Linked DNA regions of Homo sapiens: regions 2, 3, 4 and 5 are each linked to region 1. The links are contacts of gene promoters, found by promoter capture Hi-C in blood cells and fetal thymus (Javierre and others, 2016). All regions are on one chromosome and are shown on one strand. The core of a region is centred on a gene start or on the middle of the fragment in contact, and the rest is flanking DNA. Distances in the headings are between cores, read along the strand shown.

Region 1 (2,700 bases), core at 99-2,598:
GCGAGACCTCAAAATGTAACTTACTTCCAAGCTATCTCCTTTTCAAAGCCCAGATCCCCCAATAATTTTGCAACCAACATGAAGAGGAGTTTCTGCCCAGTGGGCTGCTTTTTGGGAGAGACTGTGAGCAGATGACTTCATATTAACCCAGATCTAGTCAACCTTCTAGCCTGAAAAAACCTAAAATGCATAGTAGATAGTTTACATACGGACCGAGGCTGAATGAGCAAAAAGGTGGAGAGATGGATAATGAACACAGAAACAAGTATGACAATTTCAGTAAAGAAGATAAAATGGTGCGAGTATATGCTGACGGTAGGGTATTGCTTTAACTGTGCTGGTCAGGGAAATCCTTTCTGACTGGTGAAAAGCAGAGAAAGAGACCAAGGTGAAAATTCCCCCAAAAGTGTGAACCTGATCATAATTTTTTTTAATTTAATTTTTAGAGCCAGTGTCTTTCTCTGTCACCCAGGCTGGAGTGCAGTGGTGCGATCATAGCTCACTGCAGCCTCCAAACTCCTAGCCTCAAGCCATCCTCCTGCCTCAGCCTCCCAAAGCGGTGTAATTACAAGCATGAGTCACCATGCTCGACCCTCATCATAATTTTTTTTTTTTTGAGATGGAGTCTCAGGCTGGAGTGAAGTGGCGCACTCTCGGCTCACTGCAACCTCCGCCTCCCGAGTTCAAGCGATTCTCGTGCCTCAGCCTCCCAAGTAGCTGGGATTACAGGCGTGCACCACACACCCGGCTAATTTTTGTTAATTTTAGTAGAGACGGTTTCACCATGTTGGCCAAGCTGGTCTCGAACTCCCGACCTCAGGTGATCCACCCGCCTCGACCTCCCAAGGTGCTGGGATTACAGGCATGAGCCACCCGGCCTTCCTCATCATAATGTGTATGTCCAAAATGTATGCATCAGCAGTAAAAGTGAAAGCCAGAATGAAAAAGGAAGGTGATGAGAGGGGTAAAGTCTCATGTGGTTGGAACCATTTTGGGAAACAGGACAGGAATGATAGCAATTAAGAAGCCGGTCCACACTATTTGCTATCCTAGGTCTGAATAGTGAAGAGAAAATGAAAGGAGAGCGCCAAGGGTAAGAGAAAGAAATTAGCTATTCCACCTCCTGGTTGGCTACTGTCTTCCTGCCCTCTTCCCCATGGCACAGCAACTCCTCCACCTGCTGAGGACCCTAGCCTAAGCTGCAGCGCCCCAGAGCCTCAGCACCCCCGCGACCCAGCTCCCACGAGGGGCACGGGTTCTAGCTCCGCCCCGCAAGAAGGACTTCCGCGTCCTCGGCCGTCCCGCTCCCCCCGCCCCAACCCAGCGGTTCTGCGCATGCGCGGGGGCCATATTAGCAGCGGTTATTCGGTGAGCGGTGGTGGTTTATTCTTCCGTGGAGTTAAGGGCTCCGTGGACATCTCAGGTCTTCAGGGTCTTCCATCTGGTGAGCCTTTGGCCCCTTGGGGCCCGCGGAAGCTTGGCCGCTTTCCCATTGGGCGGGGGTCGTGAACGTCAAGACAGTCGGTCCCGGCCTGCAGTTGCCGCCGAGGAGCCGTGGGCACGATGACTCTGCACCGCCTCCTCTGTGACGGACCGACCGCCGGGAATGGCCCCCGCCGGCCGCCGTCGGGGGCTTCCCAGTGCCAAGCCTGGACGCCGGGGCCCGCGAGGGGGCGGGCTGAGGGTGGGGGTCTGTGGGCAGGACCGAGAGTTGGGGTGGCTTCCGTCCTCAGGAGTTCGGTACGTGAAAGTTAGCTCTCCCGGAGGTGCCGGTGAACTCAAAATAGTGCTGTGCCCGGCGTCAGGCGTGGAGACAACAGAAAGTTGTGCTTAAAGCTCGAATCAGAAATCCCCGGCGAGTGTCTCTGTGTCCTCCCTGCTTCTCTGCTCTGTGCCATCCTTACTTTGCACCATTCCTATTGCAATTACCTCAACCAGTTCGCTGCCCTCGGTCTCTCACCAGCCAGAGTGATCATTTAAAATGCCAATCAGTTCCTGTGGGCCTTGGGAATCATTCAGAGGAGCCCCATTGGCTGAGAGATAAAATTCTGTTTTTACCTGGGCACGCGGGCTCTCCAGGATTTGATTCCAGCTTACCTTTCCAGTCTTGATTCCCTATATTCCAGTATTTGGAAATGTGGGCCTTGGACTGAGGCTTTACCAAATAACGCTGAACACCTAGTATTGCCTTTTGCACGAATGGTACTGATGGTGCCCAAGATAACTGCCTCCACCCCCAAGTTCAGGACCCAGATCACTCTCTGGAGAAGGCCTCAGCCTCTTGCCTTGGCTTTCAAGGCTCTGCGTGATTTGGATACTCGCTTAGCTCTTATTTATATATATTTTAAAAGCATCAGCAGTTTATCTCATGCCCACTAAACTATCCTGCCTCCGTACCCTTTGTTCATACTTTCTGCTCTGTGTGGAATGCCCTTCTTTCTTCCCCTGTTCTTTCTCTTAGACCCAAGGGTTCTCAGCCTTATTTCTGCCTCTCCCATCTCTGATTTACTTTCATTTTCTGTATCGATTTCTCAAAAAATACTTTCTTGATTCTTTCATCATCCCTTTTCCCACCCTACCCCCGGTTCCTCTTTCCACATTATAATCTATGACTGCCTCTCTCACCTAACTGCCAGTATTAGCTTTTCAGGACAGGAACTGGTTTTACACATTTTGGTATTCCAGCATCTAGCATAATGC
Region 2 (2,700 bases), core at 183-2,682, 420 kb before region 1:
CTAGGGACAGGCAATCCCGAATCTGTCTTGTCTTAACTACCCTTCCCTGAGGGTGGACAGGTGGGCAGCAAACTCCAGGTAGCTCTTTTCATGTTTAATAACACCATCACCCAGCCCTCCCAGACACAGGGGCCTGTGAGAAAACAGCTCCTGCAAGCAATGTCATCCCCATGCTGCAGACGGGGCCTCAGGCTTGGGTTTTGCTCTGGTGTTGAATTACAGAGCCTAGGGTCCTGATGCGTGCAGAGGGGTGCAGGCCAGGGCTGTGGGGAGCCAGGACGCCTCTCCTCAAGCCCTCTCACCTGCCTGGAGCCCCTCATTTTCCAAGGGGCCAGGGATACCCCTGATATGGTTTGGCTGTGTCCCTACCCAAATCTCATCTTGAATTGTAGTTCCCATAATCCCTACGTGTCATGGGAGGGACCTGGTGGGAGGTAATTGAATCATGGGGGCAGTTACCCCGAGGCTGTTCTCATGATAGTGAGTTCTCACGAGATCTGATGGTTTTATAAGGGGCTTCTCCCCCTTTGCCCAGCACTTCTCTTTCCTGCCGCCATGTGAGGAAGGATGTGTTTGCCTCCCCTTCTGCCATGATTGTAAGTTTCCTGAGGCCTCCCCAGCCATGTGGAGCCATGAATCAATTAAACCTCTTTCCTTTATAAATTACCCAGTCTCAGGCAGTTCTTTATAGCAGCATGAGAATGGACTAAAACAACCACCAAAGGCCCATCATATTGGATCGGATTCCCGGACTGGCCTTCAAGCTCCTCTCTCCTCTTCCCCACACAGGCAATCTTGCTGCTGTCAATGAGACCACGGGAGGATGGGGGTGGGAGTGGGAGCAGGAGAAGCTGGCCTGTGTCTCACCTCTGCTGCTCCCCAGCCTGGAATGTTCTCCCTCAGCCAATCCTACCTGTCTTTCACCCACACACTCTTCATATGGTCACTGGTGGCTAACAGGTGCCATGCTCCCTGTTAGTCCTGCCTGATCACAAGTCTGGTGGGGAGCTGGGCCCCTGGGTCCAGGAACCCAAGGAGCCCCTAACAGGCTGTTAGAGCAGCTGGGATAGCACTAGGGTGGCAGGGTGTTGGGGGTGCTTATAAAGGAGATGATTCTGGAGTTGGGTCTGGAAGGATGCATAGCAATGCTGTGGGCAGAGGAGAGGCGAAGGACACTCCAGGGAGTGGAGATAGCCAGTGCAAAGGCCGAGGCAAGGGGCTTTTGTTGCCAGAATGAAAATGGCCGTGGGCCTCAGAAGACAGGCAGCTTGGGCTTGGCATCTACAAAGGTAGGGAACCCGAAGCTCCCTGTGAGGCTCAAATGAGGCTCCATGCCAAGAACTCTGAAAGGTAAAAGGTGCCACAAGAATGCCAGGGGTGACAGCTTTGTTATTCCAATACCGAGAGCCATCCTGTCGAAATGGGGACCTCACCCCTGACATCTCTCAAGCTACAGGGCAAATCCCACTTATCAAACACTATACCCCAGTGTTGCTGCCTCTCGGCAATGCTATGAGGGTAGGTTTCACTATCCCTATTATACAGAAGAAAACTGAGGCTCAGGGAAGGTCAAATGGTTGCCCAAGGCCACAGATGCCAGGTCTACTGATGCCAGGCCTGGAGGCTTTGCCCCTTGCTCAGACTCTCTAAGGTGGTGGAAGTGGGGTATCCCCTGCCCATGCAGGTGACAGGTTGGAATAGCAGCCTGGGTAGAGAGGAAAGCCGAGAGGCACTGCCTGAATGAGCAGAATGGTTAGGGCAGTGACAAGCTGCAGCACAGCTCTCTTGGGAAGCTGCAATGGGCTCTGGTCCCAGCCTGACCATCGATCTCCAGGGCAAGTGATCCTGGGACTTTGCTGGCTTTTAGTGCCACCCAGGCAGAGGGGCCTAGTGAGGCCCGTGGGGCAGTTTTCTTGGTATTCAGTGATTCCTGCTCACCCACTGGTCCTGGGGTTCTGAGGCTGCCGATCCCCTTTATCTTTCCCATCCAGGTCCACCCCCACCCCCATCAACACCAAGGAGAAGGGCTGTCCTGGGAAGAAGCAGAGCCCTGATGAATAGCTCAGGGGTGGTGGCCATGCCCTCAACTTTTAGACGTCCTAGGAGTGGAAGAACATCAAAGCTAGAGCCAAAGGGCCCTTAGGGACCCCTGGTCTAACAGACAGGGACTCCCTGCTATACCAGGACCCAGGATGCAGTGAAATAGCAAGGGACCTGGAGTCAGAGGCTGGGTCTTGAGTCCCTGGCTCTGTGACTTTAGCCAAGTTGCTAAGCTCCATCTGTCAAATGGGGATAAATGGATTCTCTTGTTACAAGGTCACAATGAGGATTAAATAAGAATGTGCCGGAAACTACCCACCTGAAAGCTCATAGTAAGTAGATGTTCATTCCCCAGCAGGAGGATCTGGGCCCTGGGAGGAGTGGGAAGCTCTAACTCCATCCTAGCCCAGTGGCCGAGTGGGGACCTGAATGTGGCTCCTGATACATGCTGATGCTCTGCCTCAGCCCCAGGAGCACAGCCAGCCCATGTGGGGTGCCCCAGCCTCACCCCGGCCCCAGTCCCAGTCCCAACAGGGTGAACGAGAAGCCACACTTACTTGAGGATGTCCTTCTTATTGAAGAAGGTGCAGTCCTGTTGAGGGAAAACACACAACACACAGTCAGTGTGCGGCTCCCAGACTTTCTTCCTCAGAGGCCTCG
Region 3 (2,700 bases), core at 183-2,682, 390 kb before region 1:
GCGAAAGTTCAGCAGTTAGGAGAACTGCCTTAGTACTTAGGAAGCTTCCTAGTGTGAATGCCAGCATCATCACTTACTAGCTGTACTTCAGTTTTCTCATAGGGTTGTTGTGAAGATTAAATGAAGACTGGACAAAGTCAGTCAATGTTTATTTCACAATCACTGAGCAGCAAGTATTCCTTGTGTACCAGTCTCTGTTCCAGAAACAACGTCATAAGAGATCATCAAGATTATCTCTGGACTTAAGGCATATCTTCTCTCTATCTCTTTTGAGACAGAGTCTCGCTCTGTCACCCAGACTGGAGTGCAGTGGCATGATCTCGGCTCACTGCAACCTCTGCCTCGTGGGTTCAAGCGATTCTGATGCCTCAGTCTCCTGAGTCACTGGGATTATAGGCATGTGCCAACACGCCCAACTAATTTTTGTATTTTTAGTAGAGACAGGGTTTTGCCATGTTGGCCAGGCTGGTCTCCAACTCCTGACTTCAAGTGATCCACCTGCGTCGGCCACCCAAAGTGTTGGGATTACAGGCGTGAGTCACCACGCCTGGCCCAAAGCTTATCTTCTCAATGGCACACAGCAGAAGAGAATGTGATGTTTCCCAGGAGAGGTGGGAGCCAAGTGCTAGAGGGCTCTGAGTAAGGAGAGGGGGACACATTCGTGGGTCTTGGGGGCTTTTACAACTTTTACTACTTCCCAACATGTAAGCTGAGTCTTGACAAGGAGCTAGAATTTCAGCCAGTAGAAGTGGGGCAAGAGGGCATTGAGGCTGAGGGAATGGCACGACCATAGGCACGGAGAGGTAAAATATGGGAAGCATTTGGGGGCTGGCCAGCAGTCCTAGTTGGCAGGCGCTCCAGGTCTTTGGGGCTGGAAGGAGTGGTGGGAAATCAGGCTGAAAAAAGACAGTGGTGTGAGAGGAGAGTGCAAGGGAGAGCCAGGAGGTTTCAGAGCCGGGGCGAGCCCTGGTCAGAGCTGTGCCTGAAGGGGAGGGCAGGTTGGCAGGTGAAGAGGCTGTTGTAAGAGCCTGGGCCTGAGGTGGTCTGGCCCGAAGGAGGGCAGGGGTGACATTGGGGATGGAGGAACTGTGGGAGAACACTTCAGGATGGGACTGCCAGGGCCTGATGAGGGGAAGGGGCCCAATGGAAAGGGGTTGATAAAAGCCCTCCTTCCTGACAAGGCCACAGACTTAGCTGCAGTTTATTATTTAGGTCATAAAAGCTCTTGGGATCACTTCTCTACTGCACTCATCACCTCTCTGGGTGGGTAGGCAGCTCCTCTCTGGATAGAACTCTTCCCAGGGTAGGGTAGCAGAGACCTGGTTTAAACACCTGACCTCCCCTGGCACCCAGCTAGAGGCCTGGCCATCAGCAGGAACTCAGGAGTTTGTGATGGACAGGGAGAGGACAAGGGGAAAGGTGAGTATGGATGTTATTTCTTCAGAGAAGCATTCCCTGACCTCCAGGTTAGGTTTGAATCAGGTTGCCTGATTTTGCCTTGCCATAGCTCCTTGCTCTTTTGCTTCTTGGCGCAACAGTTTTAATGACATGTGTGTGACACTTGATTGAAGCCTGTCTTTCCTACTGGACACTAAGCCCCAGCACTTAAAACAGTGCCTGGTGTCTAGTTGACCCTCAGAAATATTTGTTGAGCTAAATAGACAGATTAGTAGTTGCCTGGGATTGAGGACAGGAGCGGGATTGACTATAAACGGACACAAGGAACATTTTCATATGCTCAAAAACTGGATTGTGGTGATGGTTGTGCAACTGTTTACATTTACTAAAAATCATCAAACTGTACACTTACAGTGAGTAAATGTTACTATATATACATTATACCTCAATAAAGCTGGTAAAAAATAAAATTCGGCCAGTCGCAGTGGCTCACTTTGTGAGCCTGGGGCAAGCAGATCGCTTGAACTCTGGAGTTCCAGACCAGCCTGAGCAACATAGCGAGGCCCCATCTCTACGGAGAAAAAAAAAAAAAAAAAAAAAGAAAAAGAAAAGAAAAAACAAAGTTGGGCTGGGCTTAGTAATTACTTGATCCCAGGAGGTCGAGGCTTTGTAGTGAACCTGTTCGCGCTACTGCACTCCAGCCTGGGCGACAGAGTGAGACCCGGTCTCAAAAAAAAAAAAAAAATCAAAATTTGTGGAATAAGAAAATTATGTGTCTTTCTCCACGGGATTGTAAATTCTATGAGGAGCGCTATATCCCCAAGATCCTAGAACATTAATCAGCACCTAGTAGGTGTGGAACAAACGTCTTACCTTAACAGCGAGTCAATGAACCAGGGAGGGGAGGAAGAAGCTTTCCCGGAGATGCCGGCCCCTCAGTTTCCGGGTTCGCCTGGCGCTCAGCCAGGCCAGTCACAGAGAGACGAGCCCGGCGATTCGCCAGCGGAATGTCCAGGGGCGGGGCAGCGAGCGAGCGCGAAGCAATCCTGAGGCGGTCTAGGGGGCGGGGCGTTCAGGGGGCGTGGCCGTGCAGGGGCGGGCTCCGAGCGTGGGGTGGGCGCTTGCGCACTGCCGCTGCGGCTGTTGCTGCGGAGCCAGGAGGGGAAGCGATGGCTGGGCCCGCGTGGATCTCTAAGGTGAGCGCTGGCAGGCCGGCGTGTGGCAGGCAGGCAGGCCGCGAGGGCTGGCAGGAGAGCCGGTCGCGTGCCGGGTGTGGGCGGGCGCGTGGGCCAGACAGGGAGG
Region 4 (2,700 bases), core at 185-2,684, 270 kb before region 1:
AAGCTTTTCCATCCTGTTTACAGAAAGTTTGCTTTTTATCTCTAAAGAGGCTCATGACCCACCTGAATAGGTGAATTGAAGGATGAGGCATTGCAAGGAAAGGCTGCTAACCCTCCCGTTCCTCCTTTCACTTCTTGCCATTTTCTTACAAAACTTTGGTTGTTCCGCATGGGTCTTGAGAGGTGGGGCCGTTATAGTAGCTGATAGCAGTGTCACTTGGGCCACGTTTGAAACCACACCAATCACCCATGTAGCATTTAAGACCTGTGGAAACGACGCTGGAATCAAAATACCTGTCTGTGTTAGTTGTTCCAAGCTGGAGAAAGCTACTTCAGGACGGTTGGCTGAATGGCAACAGTGATGGAATATTTATATTTAGCCACATGTGCTGAATGTGGCTGTCACAAGTTTAAAATGCTTTCCTGTAAGACCATTTGTCTGTTACTCACTTGCGTTCTTTCTCATCTATATTTAGATGGCTTACTGTAGCTTTTAAAGGCACTGGCGTTTTACATGGTGCTGGTGATTCATCCACCTGCTCCCTACATTCATTGTGGTCCGCTTCTGACAGTCTCCTTTAAGGAGAGCTTGTAGGCTTCTAATTTCACATTTCAGCAAGCTGGCTAAAGACATGTGGGAAAGCCTGACCCTGGATTCAGGTCAAATCTCAGCACTCACAAGAGTAAGTTCATGCCTCTGTGTATACAGTTAGAGCTGAATATGCTTTTGTTCTGAAGCTTTTATTTTTAAAAAATTAGACTTGACCTGTACTACATATGTGTAGGTTTCACCCTGTCTATACCTGTCTGGGCAGGTTGTTTGGTTTGTTTTAAACTAATATTTATTCATAGCCAGGCACTGAGTTAGTGTCACATAAATGAGGCCCTTGGCAGTGAGGTCTGGCAGGCCCATCAGCTTGGAGGGAAGGGTTCTGTGATGTGCCCATTGCCAGGAATACTTTCCTTCCTCTACCTTCATGGAAGGGGATAAAACTCTTTAGTTCTCAGCTAAAACATCTTCCAGGAGGCTGCCTCTGCCTCATAGACTGAACCACAGGCCCAACGTGCATCCTACTTTAATGGTGATTACTTGTTTGATTAACTGTATTCCTTTAATGGTGATTACTTGTTTGATAACTGTATTACCTGCCATAATGTAAGCAGGGCAGTGACTGTGCCCCCATGGCCACTTATGGGGTGAGTATCTAGCTGTGCAGGGTAGGTGCTAAAATGTTTGTTAGCTGGCTGAGTAAATGCACTTTAAAAAATTGTGTGTAGGAGGAGAGGGCCCTATAAAGGCACAAATTGGAAGGGAAATTGCAGTGAAAGGGATATTGGGAGGAGAGTGGCAATTTAGATCGGAAATCAAAGAGGATGAGGAGACTGGGGACACAATTTATAGAAACGGCTGTAGAGTTCCCCAGAGAGAGCTCATTCATTCATTCATTCATTCATTCAACAAATACCTCCTCTTCTGGTCCCCACTGTGTGCTGGGTGCACTGTGCAGGCCTTTTGTGAGTGTGTATGTGAGTGTGTGTGTGAGTGTGTATGTGAGTGTGTGAGTGTGTGAGTGTGTGTGTGAGTGTGTATGTGAGTGTGTATGTGTGTGTAGTTCTTTTCCACTTTATCACAGGTAGAACCTTTAAATTTTTTTTTCCTCCTAAGTTCGTCACTGTATTATTAACGTCTCTTCAAAAATAGACTACACCAGTTCTTTACCCCTTGCTGGGAAAACTGAGAAGGCCGTTGAAATGTTGGTCTTTGTTTTTTGCCCTGTTGTCCCCTGTTGCTAAGCATTGGGGCACCTTGTGTTTTTTGGGCACTCTGTATGGAGTCTGTACTTCTCTGCGGGTGTTTTTTTTTTGTTTTTTGTTTTTTTTGCAAGATGCATGGGTGGTAGGTAGTGGGTCACCAAGATAGTCCCTTTTAGGGGCAATGATGTGGGGTATATTCTTGGCTATTACCCTGTTGAGATGAGTTTGGTCTTTTGGTCAATTTCATTGTAACTTTTAGTTTGAATAATAGACTTTCAAGTTCAAAAATCAGAACATAGCAAACCATGCAGAAAATTTTAGAACACAGAGGGAAACCTACCAAGTACACATTATCCTAACCACTCTGTGCTTCTTTCCAAGCTTTCCCCAGTATGATCATACATGGCCATCCTGATACATAGACATTTTGTTTTCTTGTTTCCACTTAATATTTTATTATAAGTACTTTTCCCAAGTTGTTACGTAGTCTTCAAAGCCATTTTCCCCTCAGCTGTATAGTAATCCTGTTAAGGTTCTGTGGCAAATGATCATGGTCTGAAAGGCAAGCTCATCATAGCACTCGTCTCCCACTGGGAGAAGGGGGTCCGGGCCGGGAGCTGAATTAGACTTTGGAGTGCTGGGACCCTAGAGGATGGACTCCCTACTGGTAGTTGGAACCCCCATCCCATGTGAGATCTGGCCTCTGACTGAATGTCCCAAGCAACTGGGTACTCCTTTTCCATTCTTAGATCATTCTATTAAGTCTAAATGACATGTGAGTATCCAGGGTATTTGGTGAGTGTTTCCGGTGGACGTTCCCATGAAGTTATTTACCTAGTCCTGACCTGCAGATAGACGCAGAAACTGTCTAGGGGCAGCCTGGCCTAGTTGCTTTCTGATCTGTACCAGGCACCCAATCCTTACACTCTACCTCATGTTTTCTGCT
Region 5 (2,700 bases), core at 125-2,624, 480 kb before region 1:
GTCAGGAACTGAGAGACACAACCAGAGCCAAATTCAGAGCCCAAAGCCCACCCAGTCCTCCTCTTTTTTTTTTTTTTTTTTTTTTTTTTTTTTTGCAGATGAGGGGACAGAGGCCCAGAAAGGGAAGTGACTTGTCTAGGTCATACAGGGAGTCAATACTGTGAGCCCAGTCTGCCAAACCCCCAACCCTTAGAGGCAAGTGTGTGTTTGGGTGGGGGAATGTGCGTGTGTGGTCCTCCCACCAGCTCCCTGACTACCTGGCCCCTCCATCCCCATGCCACAGGTGAGCTAAGCACCCTGGGAGCCTTCTGCTCCAGCCAGGGAGGTGCCCAGACACTTCCTCTTGTTCAGCCTGCATATGCAGCTGTGTTTCTATTTATGCTCGGGAGCCACAGGCTGCTAGAGAAGCTGGCACATACTCACTAGGGCATATCTGAACCAACCTCTCCAGCTGCCTCTGACAATGCAGGCACCATGAAAAATCTGCTTTTTACAAGAAATCCTTTTCACTTTAAATCTTTGAGTATTAAATGTAACTGGGAAACAATCAGTAACCTCTGAGTCATCTCTCACTAAATTCCTGAGGCAAAACTTTTAGATCACATGCTTTCAATGACTGATATTTTATCATATTGTAGAAATTTGGTCAATAAGATGGGCAAAATCTGGTTAACAAGTCAGTTAATCAAGACACTGATTAACTGGGTTTGTTTCCTTTCAAAAAAAAAACCTAAACAGGCTGCTATGGCGGCTCACACCTGTAATCTCAGCACTTTGGGAGGCCGAGGCAGGCGGATCACCTGAGGTCAGGAGTTCGAGACCAGCCTAGCCAACATGGTGAAACCCCGTCTCTACTAAAAGTATTTTTAAAAATTAGCCAGGCGTGGTGGTGGGTGCCCGTAATCCCAGCTACTTGGGAGGCTGAGGCAGGAGAACTGCTTGAACCCAGGAAACGGAGGTTGCAGTGAGCCGACACGGTGCCACTGCACTCCAGCCTGGGCGACAGTGAGACTCTGTCTCAAAGAAAAAAAAAAATCTAGAGATCACTAGAAGACTTTTGACTTCAATCCCCAATTAGCTAGTAAAAGGCTGGGGGCCAGACTGTCTGAAATGGCTCTGGGGCATGTGCTTTGACAGAAAAGCCCCAAAGGGCCTTTTCTGAAGACAGCTGAAACCCAAAGACAGAAACACACACAGGTTCTAAGACTGAGCACCACTAAAAGTACAACACAGCAAAATCAGCAGAAATCCAAAAAGCCTCTGCGTTTTTTATCTGGTATCTTTTAGCAAAGGACTAAATGGAGATTCGGCTCAGGCCTAATTAAATGTATAATCACAAACCAGCCTCTTTATCGCCCCAGTCCCAGGAAATTGGTTCAGATCTGCCCTGTACCAACACAGTAGCCCTAGCCAGACGTGACTACTGAGCACATGAGAGATGGCCAGTGCCACATAAAATCTTTTGGATACACTGAATAAATACGATAGTATTAAAATTAATTTTACTGGTTTAATGTGGCTCATTGAAAATTTAAAAGTATATTATGTGGCTCACATCTTATCTTTACTGAACAGTGCTGGTCTACACTACAATGGCAAATATATTCCATTTTGAGAGCCAAGGTTGGTGGGAGATCTGGCTTGGCAGGAAACAGTACCTCAGGATTATAACATAAGCCAAGGGCATGGGGTCCACGGGGGTGTGGGGCAGCCAACACCATTGCCCTTCTACAGCACTTTACAACTCAAGATAACTTCTCTCTTTAAACAGGCGCCTCCATATCTCCAACCACCCCATGGTCCATTAATGTCCAAGGAGAGGCCAACATTCTTTAGGAACCCAGGCATCTGCTGGTCTGGCCCCAGCTATAGTGCCTTTATTCAGTGCTCCAAAAGTGGGGCGAGTAGGACCTTTGAGTGATCTGGCTGCACAGACAACGCCTTGCTAGGTCTATCACCAGGAGTTCCCTCCGCTGAGCCTCAGCTCAGCTGGTGACAATGAGCCAGTCAGCGCAGAAGCTAACGGCCAGGACCACACAGCATTCACCAAAGACACGCCCGCCGGAGGAGTGAGGACCGGGAAGGATCACCATCTGCCCCCCACCCCTCAGAATGACCAAAATGCTGTGGTCCCAAGTTCTGGAGAGCCAGACAGGCATTCCACTCATGCTAGAAGAAACAGTGACAAGGCAGAGCTCCACAGATCAGCAGAGAATTGGGAGCCGATGCCAGGCAAGCACCCAGCAAGAAGCCAGGTGCTGGTGTGTGCTGTCTGATGCCTTACCTAGGCCAGCTCCTGAGTCTCCCCTAACACCCGTCTCTCCAGCTCCTTCCTCCTCACCCTTCAAGGTCCAATGCAAAGGCCACCTCTTCAGAGCAGGTTTCCCTGACCTGGGTGTGCATTTTGTCTCCCCTAACACCAGTCTCCTCAGCTCCTTCCTACTCACCCTTCAAGATCCAATGCAAAGGCCACCTCTTCAGAGCAGGTTTCCCTGATCTGGGTGTACATTTTGTCTCCATTCTCTGAATAGGGAGCTCAGAGAATCTTGTAGCCCAGGTAACCCTCCCATGGAGGTGAGGGCACTCCCTGTGTGTTCCTCACTAACCCAAGTTCCTTAAAGGCAGAGACCAGACCTGCTGGTCTCAATACGATCCAAGATGTCTTGCACAGTGTCCTGAATATAAACACTCAAATATCTG

The links. Contacts are between HindIII fragments. The CHiCAGO score rates a contact against its expected background, and 5 or more counts as called.
Region 2: a fragment that was not itself captured here is called in contact with the fragment with the promoter of PSMA4 in region 1 in 1 of 17 cell types (fetal thymus); the score reaches 5.9 in fetal thymus.
Region 3: a fragment that was not itself captured here is called in contact with the fragment with the promoter of PSMA4 in region 1 in 9 of 17 cell types (fetal thymus, activated CD4 T cells, non-activated CD4 T cells and 6 more); the score reaches 13.5 in fetal thymus.
Region 4: a fragment that was not itself captured here is called in contact with the fragment with the promoter of PSMA4 in region 1 in 1 of 17 cell types (fetal thymus); the score reaches 5.2 in fetal thymus.
Region 5: a fragment that was not itself captured here is called in contact with the fragment with the promoter of PSMA4 in region 1 in 1 of 17 cell types (activated CD4 T cells); the score reaches 5.1 in activated CD4 T cells.

The regions. Positions count from the first base shown.
Region 1 is chr15:78,539,096-78,541,795 of GRCh38, forward strand. PSMA4 (proteasome 20S subunit alpha 4) reads left to right here and starts at 1,349. Exons shown (of 9, transcript NM_002789.6): 1 at 1,349-1,444. RefSeq lists enhancers at 1,387-1,496, 1,605-2,497 and a silencer at 1,577-1,846. The HindIII fragment of the contact is 17,328 bases long and covers 1-1,474 here.
Region 2 is chr15:78,121,108-78,123,807 of GRCh38, forward strand. CIB2 (calcium and integrin binding family member 2) reads right to left here. Exons shown (of 6, transcript NM_006383.4): 2 at 2,598-2,632. Among named protein-coding and RNA genes, the nearest start is that of CIB2, 9.0 kb to the right of the region's middle. The HindIII fragment of the contact is 8,738 bases long and covers 1-2,700 here.
Region 3 is chr15:78,146,837-78,149,536 of GRCh38, forward strand. It overlaps IDH3A (isocitrate dehydrogenase (NAD(+)) 3 catalytic subunit alpha), which reads left to right and starts at 2,526. Exons shown (of 11, transcript NM_005530.3): 1 at 2,526-2,594. The coding sequence starts at 2,568. It overlaps LOC124903534 (a long non-coding RNA gene), which reads right to left and starts at 2,383. Exons shown (of 2, transcript XR_007064725.1): 1 at 2,272-2,383; 2 at 1-896. RefSeq lists a silencer at 2,486-2,700. The HindIII fragment of the contact is 1,753 bases long and covers 557-2,309 here.
Region 4 is chr15:78,265,612-78,268,311 of GRCh38, forward strand. All of the region lies in intron 1 of DNAJA4 (DnaJ heat shock protein family (Hsp40) member A4), which reads left to right. Among named protein-coding and RNA genes, the nearest start is that of DNAJA4, 2.4 kb to the left of the region's middle. The HindIII fragment of the contact is 1,398 bases long and covers 736-2,133 here.
Region 5 is chr15:78,056,624-78,059,323 of GRCh38, forward strand. All of the region lies in intron 1 of TBC1D2B (TBC1 domain family member 2B), which reads right to left. Among named protein-coding and RNA genes, the nearest start is that of TBC1D2B, 20 kb to the right of the region's middle. RefSeq lists an enhancer at 262-381. The HindIII fragment of the contact is 3,960 bases long and covers 1-2,700 here.